4 separate regions of the Homo sapiens genome follow, and all the other regions are linked to region 3. Evidence: promoter capture Hi-C in human tissues and cell types (Jung and others, 2019). All regions are on one chromosome and are shown on one strand. The core of a region is centred on a gene start or on the middle of the fragment in contact, and the rest is flanking DNA. Distances in the headings are between cores, read along the strand shown. Region 1 overlaps FBXO32 (F-box protein 32). Region 2 has its middle 10 kb from the start of FBXO32. Region 3 holds the start of KLHL38 (kelch like family member 38). Region 4 overlaps ANXA13 (annexin A13).

Region 1 (5,197 bases), core at 2,128-4,627, 120 kb after region 3:
GAGGGAGTTAGGGAACCTATCTTATCATACCTCAGTATTTCTCCTGCATTCCTTCTGTGGAAATTATTCAGAGATTTACTTTGAAGTTACATTGTATAGTAGAATAGTTCATTACCCCTCAAATGATTGCTCAGCCCACTGAGGCAAATAAGCGTCTGGCCCGAGATGAGCCTGCCCATCCTTCAGTGACCTGTGAATTAGGCAGGTACATCCAATGTCTGTTCAGCCCTTATAAATTTATCAATTATAAGTTTACCTTGTATAGTCAAGACCCAAGGTCTTCACCTCACAGCATGATGCCTAGTGTGTTTTAGTCAAGGCACTACATAAAACCTAAGCAACTGGCACTACACCCAAAGCATCTCCTAGAAATGGAGTTTATAAGTCAGATTTTTGTAAACGTGATTGTGTTTTAAAGACATGTTAGAAGGATGCTACTTAAAAGCAGCTTAAGTATACTTTAAATGGATGAATTGTATGGTATGTGAAGTTTATCTCAATGAAACTTTTTTTTTTTCTAAAGAAGCAGCAGCAGCTTGGGGTAGATACTTTTGCAAAATGAAGGCATTGTGTAGTACAGCGATACCAGTAATCACCCCTCCCCCCATTCGTCATTTTTGTTTAAAGTAATATGGTAATACTCTGCATTGCTCTTAGTTGAAGAGTACAGTGCTGTGTGTCAAATTACAATGCAAGGCACTGTTAGGGAATTCAAAAGAAGTAGAAGCTCCCATCCCTGCCTTCCCCACAGATGTGAACATGTTTCATCCTAAAGGAGAAGCCTGTGACTGTATAGACTCTTTTTTCTTTGAGTGATCATTTTATTGTTTTATTTTGTTTGAGAAGCCTGTATGTTTGTTTGTCTTATAACTCAGTGAGTTATTTATAGAAACAGCTCAGGTTCATGTATAGCTGTTACAGCTCATCCTCTTTGTCTTCTGTTATTCATAGTTACTGCAACAAGGAGGTATACAATAAGGAGAATCTTTTCAACAGCCTGAACTATGATGTTGCAGCCAAGAAGAGAAAGAAGGACATGCTGAATAGCAAAACCAAAACTCAGTGTAAGCCATTTGTTTTGAACTTCAGAAAAAAGCTGTTTGAAGATAGTTATGATTGGTTCTTGGATGAAAAAAAATAACACCTCCCATGTCACACATCTGCCTCAGTGTTTTACTGTGTGTCACTGACAGAGGTTACTGAGATCTCAGCACTCAGAAACCTGGCTGTGCATTTTACAAGCAAGATTAACATGTTCTTTATAGTCTTGTTTGTAAGTCAGTTGCTAGTTGAGGGCCTTTTTTTCCTGCTAGTCATTCGTATTTGACATAGGTTATTTTACAGTGATGTGGTCAGCTGAATCAGTTCCAGTATGTACTTTTATTTTGAACTGTTTTGAGGCTTTGAAAACAGATTTTTCTCCCTCTTTCCTTGTATAAATCTTATTAACATTTCTAGATACTATATATAAGTATCAGCAGAGAATATAAAGTGGTATTAATAGCAGGAATTACAGGTTATTTTATCTGTAATGCATGTTTTCCTCATGTTATCTGTTTGATTTTCATGGACTTATGTAAGTTTCAGGTTTGGCATTTAAAATAAACTTGTACTTGAGTATTAGGGGTGTTTTTTTTTTTTTTGGTGTTTTTTGTTTGTTTGTTTTTGTTTTTTGAGACAGAGTCTTGCTCTCTCACCCAGGCTGGAGTCAGTGGCATGATCTTAGCTCACTGCAACCTCCGCCTCTTGGGTTTAAGTGATTCTCGTGCCTCAGCCTCCTGAGTAGCTGGGATTACAAGCACCTGCCACCATACCCGGCTAATTTTTGTGTTTTTAGTAGAGACAGGGTTTCGCCATGTTGCCCAGGCTGGTCTCAAACTCCAGGGCTCAAGCGATCTACCCCGCTCTGTTCACAGCATGTAACTCAGTCTGTCAAAGCCTAATTTCATTTTTGCGGGGGGACGGAGTCTCGCTCTGTCGCCCAGGCTGGAGTGCAGTGGCACAATCTTGGCTCACTGCAACCTCTGCCTCCCGGGTTCAAGTGATTCTCCTACCTCAGCCTCCCAAGTAGCTGGGATTACAGGTGCCTGCCACCACGCCTGGCTAATTTTTGAATTTTTAGAAGAGACGGGGTTTCACCATGTTGGCCAGGCTGGTCTCGAACTCCTGACCTCTAGTGATCCGCCTGCCTCAACCTCCCACAGTGCTGGGATTTCAGGCATGAGCCACTGCATCTGGCCTGTAATTTCTTATGGCATAATGCTTTAGAAAAAAAAATATAGTAGTTTGGAGCTTTGGTATATGAAATCTGGCTCTCAAAGATTTAGAGTGCTTCAGACAAAGCAACTTATAGCCCCAGTATTTCTACACTGCAGAAATTAAGCACTTGAAACTTCTTCAGTTGTCAGTAGACTCCTTATCTTTTTTGTCAAAACTTTTAAAACTTTGGAATAAATGAAATGAAATGTCTTAAATCTTGAGCATGTTGCAGATGTTAAAGCTGTGTATTCTTTTTGTCTCTGTAGATTTCCACCAAGAAAAATGGATCTATGTTCACAAAGGAAGTACTAAAGAGGTGAGCATCCCATTCATTTACTAAGTTATACTGAACCTTATCCCTTCCTGATAGCGCAGGGAGGGATATGGTAGGGAGGGAAATTACTTCGGATCATGAGAGTCTTCTTGGATGTGGGAGATGGCAGCTATTAGTCTATTATTTAGCCAACCATCAGAGTTTAGAACAGAGAGAGAAAGAAGCAAAAGTCACTAGGTGGACCCTCTAGTCGTTCAATGAGATTATGTATGTAAAAGTGCTTTATAAAGATTGACATGCCCATCTCAACCATATTATTATATTGCCCTGGGTTTTGCCTCAGGGCAAGGTCTCCCTTTTGTTCTAAGATCTCTTTGGACTTCAACTCAGTTAAATTTCAGTCCTGGAAGCGCTAATCACTAAATATAGTAGAAGTTTTCAGTGCCTGCTCAGTGTGATGTGGGAGGGGACAAGACATTGTAATAACTACATTTGTATGGTACTTTATAAAGCCCTTTTATGTATATTTTCTCTCTGCACAGGCATTTGCTAAAATAACTAGGATACAGGCAATATGAAAGAATTTCTATGACCGTCAGGGACCTCAGTGAACATCTAGTCCCCTCTGTGATTTGAGGTCCAGAGGGGGGTCACTGATATTCCCAAGACCACCCAGATACTCAGAGCAGAGCTGGGACTTTATACTCCCAATTCCCTCTGTGTTCATAGGTTAAAAGATCAAAACTTTTGCTTCCTCCCAAAACCTTATAAACACTTCTGATGATCACAGTGAGAAAAGCACTATTGGTATAAGGCAAGGTGGTGACACAGTTGGTGCAGGTAGGTCTAATTCTCCTCCCAGGAGTACGTTACAGTCACCAACCATCATGGCCTCCCATGTCCCGTACCCTGCTCCCAGTCTTTCCTTAATAAGCAATTACTTATGATTTTTCCAGACTAATATGTGGAAAAATTATAAGCAAGGTCCCAAATGGTACAAGTCACGAAAAGGGGGTGTTTGACATGTGAGGGGCTGACTGAGGCAGCTGCTGGCTGTGTTACCCATCTTGGTGGCTCTCAAGGGCTTGTGGGTACAGGAAAGAAGCCAGTGCCCCAGGTCACCTAAGACAGGCATCAAGCTCATTCGGCAAAATCCAGTTGGGTTGTTCTAACTGGCTCATTCTTACTTGGGTGACCTCTGCATGGCAGGAGTAACTTCTGTGCCTTTGTTTTCATGTTCAGCGCCATGGATATTGCACCCTGGGGGAAGCTTTCAACAGACTGGACTTCTCAACTGCCATTCTGGATTCCAGAAGATTTAACTACGTGGTCCGGGTAAGTCTCAAGTGCCTAAAGGCTCATCCAGGCTCTTTCCCAAGTTGAATCATCTCTTTGGGTTGTCTTGAAGTAGTTTCCCCAAAAAATTACTTTTTAGGACCCTAAGAATTTTGAGGCAAGCAGAAAACAGACCCCTCAATCTCCTTCTTCCCCAACGTACTTCAAGTTCTTAAGTGAGTCCTACTAGGATGTCCCTGAGATTGGCCAGGATGGGCAGGGGCCGCCATAATACCCCAGTGAGTCGGTTAAAGAGCCATTCTCTTCAAGTGAAATTTCACACCAGGCCCCTTCCGAGCCCACCCTGTGGATACGTGGGAACATGTCACAGGCAACGCTGGCCCTGGCAACAGCCTTAGCAAGAGAGAATTCAGCAGGAAGCAAGCCCTAAAGCACTTTGGACTGTTTCAAAACCCTGTATCTCTGACTGTTCTCACTGTCTCCCTCTTGTCCTACTTCAGCTGACTCTGGGGGACCCCCAAGGCATTCTCAGATGAGGCCACAAAACTGGATGAATTAAAGCACCTCCGTGTTTTGTGCCTGTGGTTCCCTTCCACCCCCATGTGATAACAGTATTCAGTCCCATGTCCACCTAAAGCTTAAAACTGCCTGTTTTGGCCGGGTGCGGTGGCTCACACCTGTAATCCCAGCACTTTGGGAGGCCAAAGCGGGCGGATCACCTGAGGTCAGGAGTTTGAGACCAGCCTGGACAACATGATGAAATCCTGTCTCTACTAAAAATACAAGAAAATTAGCCAGGCGTGGTGGCGGGTGCCTGTAATCCCAGCTACTTGGGAGGCTGAGGCAGGAGAATCGCTTGAACCCGGGAGGCAGACATTGCAGTGAGCTGAGATTGCGCCATTGCACTCCAGCCTGGGCAACAGGAGTGAGACTCCATGTAAAAAAAAAAAAAAAAAAAAAAAAATCTGACTGGATCTGTTGCTTTCCATTTTAAACCGTATTTTGAGAAAAAAAAAAAAAGGCTGGGTGCATTGGCTCACGCCTGTAATCCCAGCACTTTGGGAGGCTAAGACAAGCAGATCATGAGGTCAGGAGTTCGAGCCCAGCCTGGCCAACATAGTGAAACCCCGTCTCTACTAAAAATACAAAAAAAAATTATCCAGGTGTGGTGGTGGGCGCCTGTAATCCCAGCTACTCGGGAGGCTGAGGCAGGAGAATCGCTTGAATCCAGGAGGCGGAGGTTGCAGTGAGCGAGATGGCGCCATTGCACTCCAGCCTGGGCGACAGTGCGAGACTCTGTCTCAAAAAAGAAAAAGTTAATGAGCAAAATATTAATGATGAAGGTAGTAAAGCAAATCAGCTTAACCA
Region 2 (5,008 bases), core at 1,131-3,630, 100 kb after region 3:
CAAGCCAGGAATGAGCTACGATTGCACCACTGTGCTCCAACCTGGGTGACAGAATGAGACCCTGTCTCAAAAATAAAATAAATACACAAACCAATGCAGATGAAAGTCATTCACACAATAGGCACTCAATAAATGTTACTCCCTTCCTCCTGCCTTCAAACTAAATTTCATCTCTGAAGCATGAATTTTAGAAAATCGTTTGCAACAAAACACGTGCCTTGGGTACATTTATAAAATCTCACCAAATGCACTTTCTCTGGGCTCGCCCTTGCTGTGGTGATGATACTCTTGCCATGGTTTTAAAAGCGAAATCTACAGTTCTGAGCTTTTCAATGCCTCATCTTTGACTGTCACAGAGGGATATTTCAACATTCTTTTCTGTCTCAATATTTCTAAATCTGCCAGTTTTGTGCAACACAAAATCCTTTCTCTGGGCTTCAGTCCAGTTTTCTCAGCAGTTGATTTCTTTTGGTAAGTCCCAATACAAATCATTCTTTCTAGTCTAATTCAACCCTTGGCCCCAGTACACGCATAAGCACGTAAGATTGGAGGGGCTCTGGGGAGTAATGGGTGAAGGATAGGGTGAGTGTGTGTGACCCTGTCTCTGGATACCTCTCCTGCATGGAAGGTCTACACTGTCAGGACCAGTTTGCAAGCAACAGAAACCAACTCTGGCTCGGGCAAAGATTTTATTAAAAGACTATTTGGGTACATAGTATCAGCAAGAGGCTGAAGACACAGACTTGAAAAATGCAGGAATTGAGAAAGCTCTGGAGGACCAGGCAGCAGGAACCACAGCAAAGCCCCCACAACAGGAACCATTTGTGGCCAACACCCCTCACTGATGCTGGCAGGAATGCCCTCCCAACAGAGAACCCCCAACCTCCTTCCTTCACTCCCCCAGAAGAATGTGTCATTCGCCAAACCTTTAAGTCACATACCTGACCCTGGCTGGACCACAGCAGAGAGTGAAAAGATCAGGTCTTTTTAGGTCCCGTTTTTGGAAGTGAGCATGACCTCCCACCAAGGCTGCACACAGTGAAGTATCCCCTAAAAATGAGGGGGCTAGCAGAAAATGGGTTCTAACCAGATGGCAAAAAAAATAAGATAAATTTTTACCATGAATTCATTGACTTACTGATTTTAGGTAATTTCATTATTTGTTTGTTTGGTTGAAATAAAGTTTATTATAACTACTTTATAGAGAGAACTAGCACGATATATATATTCATAACATTTTTAAGGCATTTGAAAATGGAACATGTACAGGAGTGCTGTAACCACTGGCAGAGAAAGACCATCTTATTCAAGATGGGTCAGAAAGGTGAAGGTAACAAGAACAGATCCCTTCTGAATGTTGTTCCAAATACAGTTCCTGCCTCTTCTTCTGGGCAGGTCTGGGCAATTAGGAAGAAGTCCTTCCAGCAACACAGGCAATCTCCCCAGGGGCAGAGGAAGCACAGAATTTGTTCTGTTCTCTGCCCGAAAGTCAGTGAAAGTGAAGTCTCTCTCAGAACAATGAGACTGCAGTCCTCAAGCTTCCACTCAACCATTTATTTCTTCTTTTACCTAAACCAGAATCTTATTTTTTTCTTTTTTGTTTGCTTTATTTTTTTATTACACTTTAAGTTCTAGGGTACATGTGCACAATGTGCAGGTTTGTTACATATGTATATATGTGCCATGTTGATGTGCTGCACCCATCAACTCGTCATTTACATTAGGTATATCTCCTAATGCTATCCCTCCCCCCTTCCCCCACCCCATGACAGGCCCTGGGGTGTGATGTTCCCCTTCCTGTGTCTAAGTGTTCTCATTGTTCAATTCCCACCTATGAGTGAGAACATGCGGTGTTTGGTTTTTTGTCCTCGCAATAGTTTGCTCAGAATGATGTACCTAAACCAGAATCTTGAAAGGCCCTGCTTGGCACTTCCCTTTCCTCATCCCTTGCAAGGAGGCATTCAGGGTGTCCTGCAGTGTTTGCCTCTTAGGTGTGGCATGAGTCTGTCCCAGCTCTCCATGGCACTCCCAGTTCTGCTGCTCATCAACTGTTGCCTGGAAACAGCCACATCCTCCTAACTGGTCTCTTGCCCCCTGTCACGTATTTCTTCTATCCATCTCTCTACTCGGCAAGAGAATCTCCCTACAGCACTATCTGCCCATTGGTGGTCTCCTGCTTACAGCTCTTCCATGGCTCCCATCATTTCAGACAAAGCCCAGGCTTTCCAGTAAGGCACATGGAGCCCTCTGCAATCTCACCCTGGCCTATTTCCCCATCACCAGCTATCCTCATGCCCTGCTCCACATCCTATTCTTCACCATGTCATATGCTGCTCCTCTCCTCTCCGCCATTGTTCCTACTGTCTCCTCTCCCCGGAATGCCCACCCACTCCCATCCTTACCTCCATTTGCTTGATTAATTCCTACCCGTCCTTTAAGACCTGGTTTGAGACCAACTCCACGAAGCTTCCTCTGACTATTCCAGGCTGATTAGGTGCTTTATCCTCCTAAGTGCTCTAATGGTGCCCTGTATCTCTTTCTCTCTCTCTCTCTCTCCCCCCCCTCCCCCCACCTCCCTACCTCCCTCTTTTCTCCACCCCCTTCACTGCACATAGGCTCGGCTTTAGGTATACATATTAATGTCTCTCTCTCTCCTTACAGCCTGTACACTCGCTAAGGGTAAGTGTTCATCTTTGTGTTCTCAAAGCTGCTTTAGAAGAGCACCAGGATCATAGCAATGGCATGATGCATCCCTGTTGAGACAATGAATGAGTAATAATTTGTAATATATTTTACCACCCCAAAAATGCTCTAAAACAGAACTAAAGATAGGCATTCCTATTGCTTAGCTGATAGAGGAGGGGAAAAAATCTAAGACATGCACCATCTCTTCAAAATATACACAGTTTCAAGACATTAGCAGAGGTTTTATGGCATACCACTTTTAGCAAAGCAGATGTTTAAAATACTAAATTATTTATTAAATTACTATCAACCGTGGTTGAAAATATTATGTCCCTTAAGGGACTGAACTTCTCAGGCTGTAGTTGGAATGAAAGAGAAGATGAACATTCTGTACTTCTTTTTAAATCACTTTCTTCTTCCTGAAATGAATGCAGTATTTAAAAGAAATCAAGGATTCATTTGCTTTTTATTCTTATTGAATCGCCTGAGAGAAGCAGTAAGACGGCTTGCAGTTGATGGGCCACAGTTGACACACACTGAAATCTCCTATGTGCCAGGAATCAGGTTTTTTTTTTTGTTTTTTTGTTTTTTTTTTTCATAAAATAACCTTTATACAGGATTAGTAGATCTGTTTACATACAAAAAACAGAAAGGACCTCATTACTGTTAGATTTCACATAAATTACACATTGACTTTTAAAAACTACTATTCAACTTCATTTAAAGTCCCTTTTAAGGATAGCATTAGGAGAAATACCTAATGTAGATAACAGGATGATGGGTGCAGCAAACCACCATGGTACGTGTATACCTATGTAACAAACCTGCACATTCTGCACATGTATCCCAGAACTTAAAGTATAATAATAAAATAATAATAAAGTCCCTTTTAAAAATTTCATTTTTGCTGGGTACCGTGGCTCATGCCTGTAGTCCCAGCACTTTGGGAGGCCTAGGCGGGTGGATCACGAGGTCAGGAATTCGAGACCACCCTGGCCAACATGGTGAAACCCCGTCTCTGCTAAAGATACAAAAAAATTGGCCGGGCACGGTGGCTCACGCCTGTAAACCCAGTACTTTAGGAGGTTGATGCAGGCGGATCACAAGGTCAGGAGATCGAGACCATCCTGGCTAACACGGTGAAACCCCATCTCTACTAAAAATACAAAAAATTAGCTGGGCGTGGTTGCAGGCGCCTATAGTCCCAGCTACTCGGGAGGCTGAGGCAGGAGAATGGCGTGAACCCGGGAGGCGGAACTTGCAGTGAGCCGAGATCGCACCACTGCACTCCAGCCTGGGCGACAGAGCAAGACTCTGTCTCAAAAAAAAAAAAAAAAAAAGATACAAAAAAATTAGCTAGGCGTGGTGGCGCACAACTGTAATCCCAGCTACTCGGGAGGTTGAGGCAGGAGAATCGCTTGAACCTGGGAGGCGGAGGTTGCAGTGAGCCAAGATCATGGCATTGCGCTCCAGCCTGGGCAACAGGGCAAGACTTGGTCTCAAAAAAAAAAAATTCATTTTGAGGCCAGGCACGGTGGCTCATGCCTGTAATCCCAGCACTTTGAGAGGCCGAGGCAGGCAGATCACTTGAGATCAGGAGTTCAAAACCAGCCTGGCCAACGCAGTGAAACCCCATCTCCACTAAAAATACAAAAATTTGCTGGGCGTGGTGATGCATGCCTGTAATCCCAGCTACTCAGGAGGCTGAGGCAGGAGAATCACTTGCACCCAGGAGGTGGAGGTTGCAGTGAGCCAAGACCGCATCACTGCACTCCAGTGTGGGCAACAGAGCGAGACTCTGTCTCAAAAAAAAATATTAATTTTGAAGGCACAGTGCATGAAATAAACCAAAGACTGAAGTACTTGAGATGAGTGGGTGTTGGGCACCTCATATAAACAGCTATAGATTGCTCTAGAACTGGGAGTATCACTTGGAAAAAACTGGAGAGGTGAAAAGTTGAGCAGACTACAACTGCAGACTTTTGCTTTCTGTGAAAAAATTGTAGACACAACAGGCAGAAATAGACAAACCACCCCAGAAAAAGGATAGGAGGAATTGTGTTTTTCTATTTCCTTATGAAAAATTGTCATTGCTGTTAATGATCATCCTTCAATCAATAATGTCAAAGATCCATACAACATGGCTGGGCATGGTGGCTTACGCCTGTAATCCCAGCACTTTGGGAGGCACAGTTGGGCAGATCGCTTGAGCGGAAGAGTTCGAGACCAGCCTGGGCATCATGGCAAAACCCTGTCTCTACAAAAAAAAAAAAAAGAAAAAAAAATTAACTGGACATGGTGGTGCACACCTGTAGTCCCAGCT
Region 3 (4,823 bases), core at 217-2,716:
TTTTGGATCCATTTCCCTGGCCTTGACCTTCTGGACTCTTTTGGGCATAATCCACTCTACGATCGGCAACTGTGAATGAGAAACCCTCTTCCTTCCACCCTGCCCTGTGGTGTCCCAAAGGCCAGGCCAGCCCAGCTTCCCCAACAGTGACCAGATGCATACAAGGATCTGTAAGTGTCTCATGGAGCTAGATTACCACACATGAGTGGCAGTAGACATGGTTCCAGAAGCAGACAGGACACCAGTCCGATTCTGGCTAAGGAGTCCTGCAGACATGGGGAGCCACTGAAGGGCCTGATGCTGGGGACTGGCAAATTCTGAGTTGCCTTCCCAGGGGCTGCTCCAGAGAAGACAGGGTGGATGTATTGGAGAGAGAAGTACTAGGAGCAAAGAAAAAAAAATGCATGGAAGACCATTGCACTAGTTGAGCAAGACGTTGAGTAGGAGACAAAGTCAGGCTTCCCTGCCTTTTGTGGCTAAGACAATCATGGACCTCCCTGAAGGCAGGGGCAGAACAGACCTGAGGTCCCCCTCACTCTCTCTCGTGATTCTGATTGTTATTGAAAGCTGCCTCCTACCACATCACTATCATCATTCCTCCCCCGATTCTCTACCTCCTGCTTCTTTTCCTCCTCCTCCTATTCCTCCTCCTCTTCTTCCTCCTCTCGTCTCTCTCCCTCCCTCTGTCCCTGCTTCTTCTTCCTCCTCATCCTCCTTCATCTTCTTTCTCTCTCTCCCTAAAGCAATATGCCTTGCCTCCTGCCTCTAGCTCAAGCTGCCAGACAAGACAAAATGGAAAAGTAAGACAGAAAAGGAAGTCTGAACTATAAAAAGCCAGCTGAAGAGCAATCAGCACGTGTCTGGGAGAGGCAGACGCGACAGGAGGAGCTCGGCCTTACCACTGTCAATCAGAGGTTCCTGAGTAAGGAGACCTGACAAAGGTTTGGGCCTTCAGGAGTCTGGAAACCCTGGGATGCTCAACAACAACAACAACAAAAAACAACAACTTTTGTCATGGATTTCATCACCTAGGATCCTGGAGGAGGAAATCACAGCTCTCCCCAGCGATCCCGCCAGGCAGATGGTGGGAAATAGAGATCCATTGAATAGCACCCACAGGCTCATGTTCCGGCTTCCCTTGTGACCACCTGCCACCTCCACTGTGGCCCAGAACCATCTTCAGTGACTCTCCACAGGTCACAGCAACCTGTTTACAGACGGCTAGAATTCCCAAGCACTTTTAGGACAGGGGACTCGGGATGGTTCCAAGCAGACAGCAAAGTCTTCTCTAAGAGAAGCCGCTCCTCCCGATCTATTTTTGCCGATGTAAACACTTGCCAAGGAAACGAGGCATGTGGGCATGCGCCGGCCCTGCAGGCCCTCGGGTTGCTGCAAAAGGCAACTGGAAAGTCACATGTCATAACAGTGGAAAGTACATATGCAACTATTCTTAGCCCTGGAATGTATACACTGTCTCCCTGCCCAGCAGTCCTTGCACAAAGCTCTAGAAAACTATGAAAGTGCCTTCAGCATAAACAAATCCAGAAATCTCCCAGGACAAATCATTTGCCAACTGAAAGAAAGGCCTGGGGTTTATGGTTTCCCTTGGAGCTAGAGGTAGAAACTCTCCGGGGGGATAAGTCAGACCAGGCACCAGTGGATGTCACCGCAGCAAAACAAGGTAAGTGTCCCTCATACTTATTTCTTCTGCAAGTAGAAAACCAGGTGTCATCCAATAAACCAGGGGATTGTTTGGTCTTTCCTTTTATTTATTCTATCTTTAAAACAAGACTCAATGAAGTCATATTTAAATATATGCATCAAAGGTCCATTTTCTTCCCTCATTTCTGTCCAGTGACCAGAGGGCCACACCTCCAGAATATCATCCTTGGGGAATGATTGACACCCAGAAAGAGAGGTTTAGACATCTGTTACTCAATAACAGATATGCCATCGATCTGGAAAAAGGCTCATGAACTTCTGCTGGTCAAATCCATGGACTGTTATCTTGCTTCAGACTAACATTTCAGCTTCTGATAACAGAGTAACTTCCAACAACTTTAGTTTGTTTGTTTGGTTGTTTCTCTCAGATTAGCTGAAGATACTATTTGCCTATTACTTTTGAAAATAACCATAACCCAAAAGGGCTCAGGTCTGAGATGTATGTGGCCTTCCTTTCCAATCTTCCCTACACAATATCCATGGTGACATCCGCAAACATCATGGGGAATGGAATAGGAGCACTGGTCTTGGAGTCCCCACAGCTGAACCCTCCAGCACATGCAGCTGAGAAAGGTTTGACTCTTGCTGACTCTGGGGGCTTCCTTCCCTCTTTGTAGGATGGACGAGGAGTCACTAGATGGGCTGCTCTTCAAAGACCACGACTTCTCTTCTGACTTGTTGAGGCAGCTCAACAGCTTAAGGCAAAGCAGGATCCTGACTGATGTGAGCATCTGTGCCGGTGCCCGGGAGATCCCCTGCCACCGCAACGTGCTGGCCTCCAGCAGCCCCTACTTCAGGGCTATGTTCTGCAGCAGCTTCCGGGAGAAGAGTGAAGCCAAAGTGCAGCTGAAAGGCATTGACCCCCCAACCCTGGACCAGATCGTCTCCTACGTGTATACGGGGGAGGCACATATTGCCACTGACAATGTCCTCCCCGTGATGGAGGCCGCCTCCATGCTACAGTTCCCCAAGCTGTTTGAGGCCTGCTCCTCGTACTTGCAGAGCCAGTTGGCCCCCAGCAACTGCCTGGGTATGATCAGACTCTCAGAAATCTTAAGCTGCGAGACCCTCAAGAAGAAAGCCAGGGAGGTGGCACTGACGTCCTTCCCAGAGGTGGCCGCATCGGCCGACCTGAAGGAGCTCTGTGCCTTGGAGTTGAGGGACTATCTCGGAGATGATGGGCTCTGTGGGGAGGAGGAAAAGGTGTTTGAGGCCCTCATGGTTTGGATCAAGCATGACCTCCAGGCCCGGAAGCGATACATGCAGGAACTGTTCAAGCAGGTCAGGCTGCAGTACATCCACCCAGCCTTCTTTCACCACTTCATCGCCAACGATGCCCTCCTGCAGTCCTCGCCTGCATGCCAGATCATCTTGGAGACCGCCAAGAGACAGATGTTCTCTTTGTGTGGCACCACCGTCCCAGACTGCAAACTCCTGTTGCATGTCCCTCCAAGAAACTCTTACCAAGATTTCCTCATCCTCTTGGGCGGAAGGAAGGACAGCCAGCAGACCACCAGGGACGTCCTACTGTACAGCAAACAGACCGGCCAATGGCAGAGCCTTGCCAAACTCCCGACACGGCTGTACAAGGCCTCTGCCATCACCTTGCACCGCAGCATCTATGTGCTGGGGGGCATGGCTGTCAGCTCAGGGAGGAGTCTGGTCAGTCACAATGTCTACATCTTCTCCCTGAAACTCAATCAGTGGAGGCTGGGGGAGCCCATGCTGGTGGCCCGCTACTCCCACAGAAGCACTGCCCATAAGAACTTCATCTTCTCCATCGGGGGGATTGGAGAAGGGCAGGAGCTCATGGGCTCCATGGAAAGGTATGACAGCATCTGCAATGTCTGGGAGAGTATGGCCAGCATGCCCGTGGGGGTGCTCCACCCCGCAGTCGCTGTGAAAGACCAAAGACTCTATCTCTTTGGAGGAGAGGACATCATGCAGAACCCTGTGCGCCTTATCCAGGTAAATGGCCGGTTCTTCCCATCACGTAACTGCATGAGTATGTGTGCTTGGACACACCCACACCTGCTTGCACACACATGCACATGTATACATACACACCAAAAAACACATATATGCACATAAATATATATATGCACACATATACACAAACACACATATGCATACATGCGTGCACACATATATGCAGAAATGTATATTCATGCATACATGCATACACATATGCACACATATATGCAGATGCCAACATGCATACGTGTGCACATGCATACACATATACAATTCATGCATGCATACACACATTTACATATATCTACACATGCATGCACACATTTATACATATGCACGAACACAAATACGTACATGCATACATGCACACACATGTGCACCCATGTACACACATACCAACACTTGTTATTTGCAAGGAAGGAAGAGAGGAAGGGAGGGAGGGAAGAAGGATTTTCAGCAAGATATTTTTCAATTTATGAATTTTTTTGTGCAAAAATAATACATAACAAAGGATATCAAATACCATCCCTATGCACAGAGTTTATCTTCATTTGATGAGAAAAATATATATCTAAAAATTCAAGTTATTATACAGCATATTGAAAGTCAGATAGTGAAGTCCCATAGGAATTTGGCAGGTGCTTCTAACTCAAGTCAGTAAGGCCTTAAAAGAAGATTCCCAAGCCTTGGTCCACACCTCTGTGACCAAATCCCCTGGAACCTGACCTCACATCACTGAATCAAAATATCTTTGTGTGAGATCCTAAAATGTATGGTTTACAAAAGTCCCCAGGAGACTCTAAGTTGCAGCCAGGTTGGGAAACCCCTACTTTTAATGATCGGCAGACATTAATTTCACTAACAAGCTGTCTGAGAAGTATGCTCAATAAAGGCCACATTTCAGAATATTAAGTGTTTTCCAGCTTTATGCAAGTTCCTGGTAATCTCTGCAGAACGTGAATATTGAGCCTGCCTTTACAGACAATCAGAAGCATCCACGAGATGTACTTTGCTCATCTATGAGAGTTATGTTGAACATCAACCATTGTGAAGGGCCTGGAGACCCAGCAATTTACACATAACCCTCAGTTGCAATTCAGACGCTGAAGAGAGGGGTGCTCTAAGAG
Region 4 (4,925 bases), core at 1,256-3,755, 73 kb before region 3:
AAATAGAAGGAGGATGCAAACTTGAAAATCAGATAGAAAGGGAGAAAATAATTCTCTTTCCAAATAATGGGGACTTGGATGGTTGTAGTAGGAATGAAAAGGAAGATAAAATGTTAAAGATAATTTTAAAGAAATAATAGACTAAAAATTAATTAATTAACTAAAAGAATTAATTTTTTTGGATCCAATGCATAAACTCTTCTACCAAGGGAAAGAATAACATTCATTGTTTTGATACTGATTGAGACAGAAATTTGCTCAAAGCAAATTTAGCTATTTTACCTTGTTTCCTTTTCAGCAAATCAGAACTTGTCCACATACTGTTGACTGCATCCTGCTACACAGCACATTTGATGCCATGAAGGCCCCGCTCAGCCCCCAATATTCTCACTTTTCAATTCCATCTGCCCACTTATCATTGACTCTTGAGGATTCCAGAGTACACTTGCTACCTTTTTTCCTGCAAGTAATGAATCCCATGTTCATACTCTCATTGAATTGGCAAAAGACGACCTTTGGCAATATAAGAAGGAAATGGATCATTCTTTTCTAATGAGAAACGTGCTTCATTTTTCATAACTCCTGAAAGCATGGTTCCTTTCACGGTTGAGAAATATCCATCATCTCCACACAACCACTTTATCCTCCAAGTTCTCTTTTGTTGATGCAATACAGTGGTAATTGGATATCTGGAAGTTTAGCACTCTTCAGAGGTCTCCAACTCCCCAAACAATCTGTGGACAACCTCAAAGCAGACAGTCATTTTCCCCAGGACACAAAATCTTGTTTCCACATAATGAATGTTATTCTGCCTCTACTAGAAACTCCAAGTTCTCCAGCCCAACACAGCACTCAAGGGCCCCTAAGAATGAGTCAACAGAGAGATGTCACTTGGGCACGTTGCCCTGCCGGTATAGGCTGGGATGTTCACAACAATCTTGATGCAGACAAAGAAGCAGGAGGTGACAACAGGTTTCTCACTTTGAACTGATCTCAGCTCACACCTTCCTCCTAGTTACCTTATCTCAGCACTCATCTTTCAGATTTGTCATCTGGGTTTCTTTGCAAAAAAATTAAAGAATGTAAGACATCATGGTCCATTTCTATTCTTCCCTTTTAAGTTACCACAGCAATTTGCCCTTGGTGACTGGAGGCCTTGCTTTAGTCAGCACCTGTGTGCCGTTTACCACCAGAGGCTTGGCCTTCTCCACACTTTTTAAAGAGACCCGTTGACAGAATCGTTACAACCATTCAGCCAGGGTTGTGGACCCTTGGCACATTCGTCCTTGGCACTGCTGACATTTGGGACCAGGTAATTATTTGTGTGTGTGTGGGCGGGGGGAGGGGGGCTGTCTGTTCTGTGCATTACTGAAGGATGTTTAGCAGAATCCTGGCCTCTATCACTAGATATTCCAGTAATACTCCCCTACTCGTGCCAACTGAAAATGTCTCCAGACATTGCCAATTGTCTCCTGGGAGACAAAAATCGCTCCTGGTTTATTGAGAACCACCGCTTAAATGGGAAAACAAGGCTCCAGGGCAGATGTCCTCAGAATGTCTTTATGTCACTGGATCTCCACCAGAAATCACCATTCCTGCCCTTCTGGCCCAGGCATGTCCCTACACTGATTTCTTCTCTTATAACAGAGAAAAGTCAGCTTCTCCTGAAGATTGACCCTTATCCTCCTGTTGATGACAGCAGCAGCCAAGAGGCAGCAGTTTTTCTCAAAACTGTTAGCCCATGAGTAACAACTTCTTCTTTTTTAAAAATTCTTTATTTCTGTAGGTTTTGGGGGAACAGGTGGTATTTGGTTACATGAGTAAGTTCTTCAGTGGTCATTTGTGAGATTTTGGTGCACCCATCACCCGAGCAGTATACACTGAACCCTATTTGTAGTTTTTTATTCCTTACCCTCTCCCACCCTTTCCCCCAAGTCCCAAAAATCCATTGTATCATTCTTATGCCTTTCCGTCCTCATAGCTTAGCTCCCACTTATGAGTGAGAACATATGATGTTTGGTTTTCTGTTCCTGAGTTACTTCACTTAGAATAGTATTCTCCGATCCCATCCAGGTTGCTGCAAATGCCATTAATTCATTCCTTTTTATGGATGAGTAGTAGTCTATTGTATATATATACCACAGCTTCTTTATCCACTCATTGATTGATGGGCATTTGGGTTGGTTCCACACTTTTACAATCGCAAATTGTGCTGCTATTAATATGCATGTGCAAGTATCTTTTTCATATAATGACTCCTTTTCCTCTAGGTAGATACCCAGTAGTGAGATTGCTGGATCAAATAGTAGTTCTTATACCAGAGTGAGAAGGGTTTCACTGCAGAAACCCTCAGTAAAAAGGCTGCTGGGCTGCTGGATTTCCTGCCTAGATGAGCAGTGCTCCCCTGGAAAGACACAGGCTGGAACCTTCAGGAGCTGATTGGCTCACCTCTCCTCTGTTTGGGTGTAGCCCCCAAAAGGGCTACCCCACTTGGACTCCCTATACCACAGCTCAGTGCATGGCAGGATGCCCACATTGTTTACACTCCTGAGGATACCATCAGTACCTTCAGGTACAATGGTGCCCACCAGTTTAAGGCACAGCATATTGAAGGGCCTTCAAGTCAGGTCTCCTAACTCCTACCCAGCCCTGCAGTCACCTTTGATAAGTAAATATCACATCAACACGTGTAACCCAGATGGCATAGCCTAAGGAAGCTTGTCTTTCTGGAAAATGACCTAACTATACCAATCTTCATTAAAAGGTGCTGAAATGCCAACATGGAAGCAATCCCAAATGTAATAGAAAGGTCATGTTTTAATCTAAAGAACTGAACTCATTTTTCAGAACATACAGTCAACATATGCAAGCAAATCATGTTGAGCTGTGATCCAAATGGATGTTTTTCTAGTTTTAGTTTTAGTTGTTAAATGATACAAATATTTCTGCCCCTTTAGAGTGATAGCCAAACACTTAGTCATCATGTAAGTCACTGTAATACTGCATCTTGGAAAGGAGGTATCAACAGCAATGAACAACTCTGTAACATTCCAGCACCCTACTAAGGTGGGCAGAGCTCAAGTTTCCTAACACACTTTCCCAACAGCTCTCTGATCAACCCCCGCAGATTAATAAACTTCTAATGTGGGAAGAGGTTCTAGGCATGAAGGAATTGGCTTGCTTTTAGTCGGTGTGAGATCCTGGAGAATCCTAATGAAAACAGCAATAACTACATGATGAAATACCAAATATTCGTATTCAAACTGTGCTTAAATATACCCAACAGGGTATACTGCCAAATATATTTTTTTCTGTTGGGTAGTTTTATGACTTAATGAAACCAATATGTCACTAATCACCCAAGATTCATGCTTCAGATGTGAATGGCCCCTCTATTTTGTTTCAAATTGCTCATCAATCTCTACTAACCATGTCTGTGGAAATGTCACCAGGATATTTTCTGGCTCTGAATTCATGAATGTTAAAAGTACAATAATTTGCATTCATACTAACTGGCTTCAAAGTGCAAATGAGTAACCGGTTAGAGGTAAAAGAACATTGTTCTGAGAGAGATAGGAGATGGATGTTTCCATAAGGTGACCCTGAGCAGGTGACTTAACAACCAGGCTTCAGTTTCTTTATTTGTAAATGATGGGATTGGATACATTCAATGTCTCCCAAACTTCAGATTTAAGTACAACCTTCATGATTGTTGCCAAATATATGGGTTACCTCTTCTACTAATTATTCTATTAATTATTTTTAAATACGCACTTTTTAATATAAATTAATCTTAAAAGGAAATTTTATACTGATACCATAAATGGAAAATTAATGTCAGTTGACATAAATATAGATAACTAAATGAAAGCAAAAAGAATGTATTAAATTCTAACTAAATTTGATGTTGCCAGCTGAAGGGTAAGGTCCTATCCTCTGACTAAAAAAGGACCTGTTTACATGGTCCACATGGGATACAGTGGGAGTCCACAAAGTAAATAATGAGGCTTTGTGGGCCACAGAACCTCTGGTGCAAGTAGGTAACTACTCTGCCATTGTAGCGTGAAAGAAGCCATAGGCCAAATGTAAATGAATGGGTTGGCTGTGTTCCAATAAAACTTTATTTACAAAAATAAGTAATGGGCCAGATATGGTCCTCAGTCTGCAGTTTGCCAACCCCTGGATTAGACGAGTGTGAAAGATCCACTATCACTAAGCAAAGACTTAATCAGAAGAGTTGGGAGAGAATTTTAAAAGGAGTTCCTTTCCTAGCTGGAGGTCCAATGGCTTTAATGCTTTCAGTGTTCCATGTCACCCATTTGGAAAAACCTGGGTTCAATTTTCACTTTAAGATTTCATGCTAAACCTCTTCCCTTTATCTTTAGCATCTTGGATAAGGTCAAGGATTTCTTTCTTGTGTAAACCTTCAGCACATTTCTAAGTTGTCTTCCTCCTTTACCGGGATATCAACAGCGGAAGTTTCTAATTTTTCTCAGACTAACGGTTCTCAACCCTGGCTGCTTGTTAGAATTGTCTGGGGAGTTTTAGAAATATTTATACCTGATATATCCCTGTACCTCAGAGATTCTGATTTCATAGGATCAGACTGGGATCCCAAATGATTTTGAGTGCAATCCGGGTTGAAAGGCTACTAATCTATATCTTGGCAAGGTCACTTTCCTCAGAGTCCATTATTTTCTCCATTTGGTATTAAATTCTAAGAGCCCCAAACTCTATTTAGCTCAAACTGTTTCACACCCGAAGGTCTTAGGACTTCACTTTCATTTGTGATTCCTGTTATTTCTCCAACTGAGGTCTGATTGAGCCCTCCCAGACACCTTGGTTAAATTTACTGTTCCTCTTTTCATTCTCTCTGCTTCATCATTTTGGAAAGCTTGACACTATTCTCAGCTCAAGATTTCTAT

The links. Contacts are between HindIII fragments. The study calls those that stand out against the background at their distance.
Region 1: a contact is called between a fragment that was not itself captured here and the fragment with the promoter of KLHL38 in region 3, in 3 of the 25 tissues and cell types used here (bladder, heart left ventricle and heart right ventricle).
Region 2: a fragment that was not itself captured here is called in contact with the fragment with the promoter of KLHL38 in region 3 in 2 of the 25 tissues and cell types used here (IMR-90 fibroblasts and mesenchymal stem cells).
Region 4: a fragment that was not itself captured here is called in contact with the fragment with the promoter of KLHL38 in region 3 in 5 of the 25 tissues and cell types used here (H1 embryonic stem cells, adrenal gland, heart right ventricle and 2 more).

The regions. Positions count from the first base shown.
Region 1 is chr8:123,530,569-123,535,765 of GRCh38, reverse strand. It overlaps FBXO32 (F-box protein 32), which reads left to right. Exons shown (of 9, transcript NM_058229.4): 2 at 952-1,064; 3 at 2,526-2,575; 4 at 3,776-3,868. Among named protein-coding and RNA genes, the nearest start is that of FBXO32, 8.0 kb to the left of the region's middle. The HindIII fragment of the contact is 5,305 bases long and covers 725-5,197 here.
Region 2 is chr8:123,548,695-123,553,702 of GRCh38, reverse strand. No RefSeq gene overlaps it. Among named protein-coding and RNA genes, the nearest start is that of FBXO32, 10 kb to the right of the region's middle. The HindIII fragment of the contact is 3,908 bases long and covers 427-4,334 here.
Region 3 is chr8:123,650,444-123,655,266 of GRCh38, reverse strand. KLHL38 (kelch like family member 38) reads left to right here and starts at 1,466. Exons shown (of 4, transcript NM_001081675.3): 1 at 1,466-1,681; 2 at 2,340-3,690. The coding sequence starts at 2,341. The HindIII fragment of the contact is 9,515 bases long and covers 1-4,823 here.
Region 4 is chr8:123,724,056-123,728,980 of GRCh38, reverse strand. The region is part of intron 1 of ANXA13 (annexin A13); the gene reads left to right. All of the region lies in intron 1 of LOC105375739 (a long non-coding RNA gene), which reads right to left. Among named protein-coding and RNA genes, the nearest start is that of ANXA13, 11 kb to the left of the region's middle. The HindIII fragment of the contact is 8,461 bases long and covers 1-4,925 here.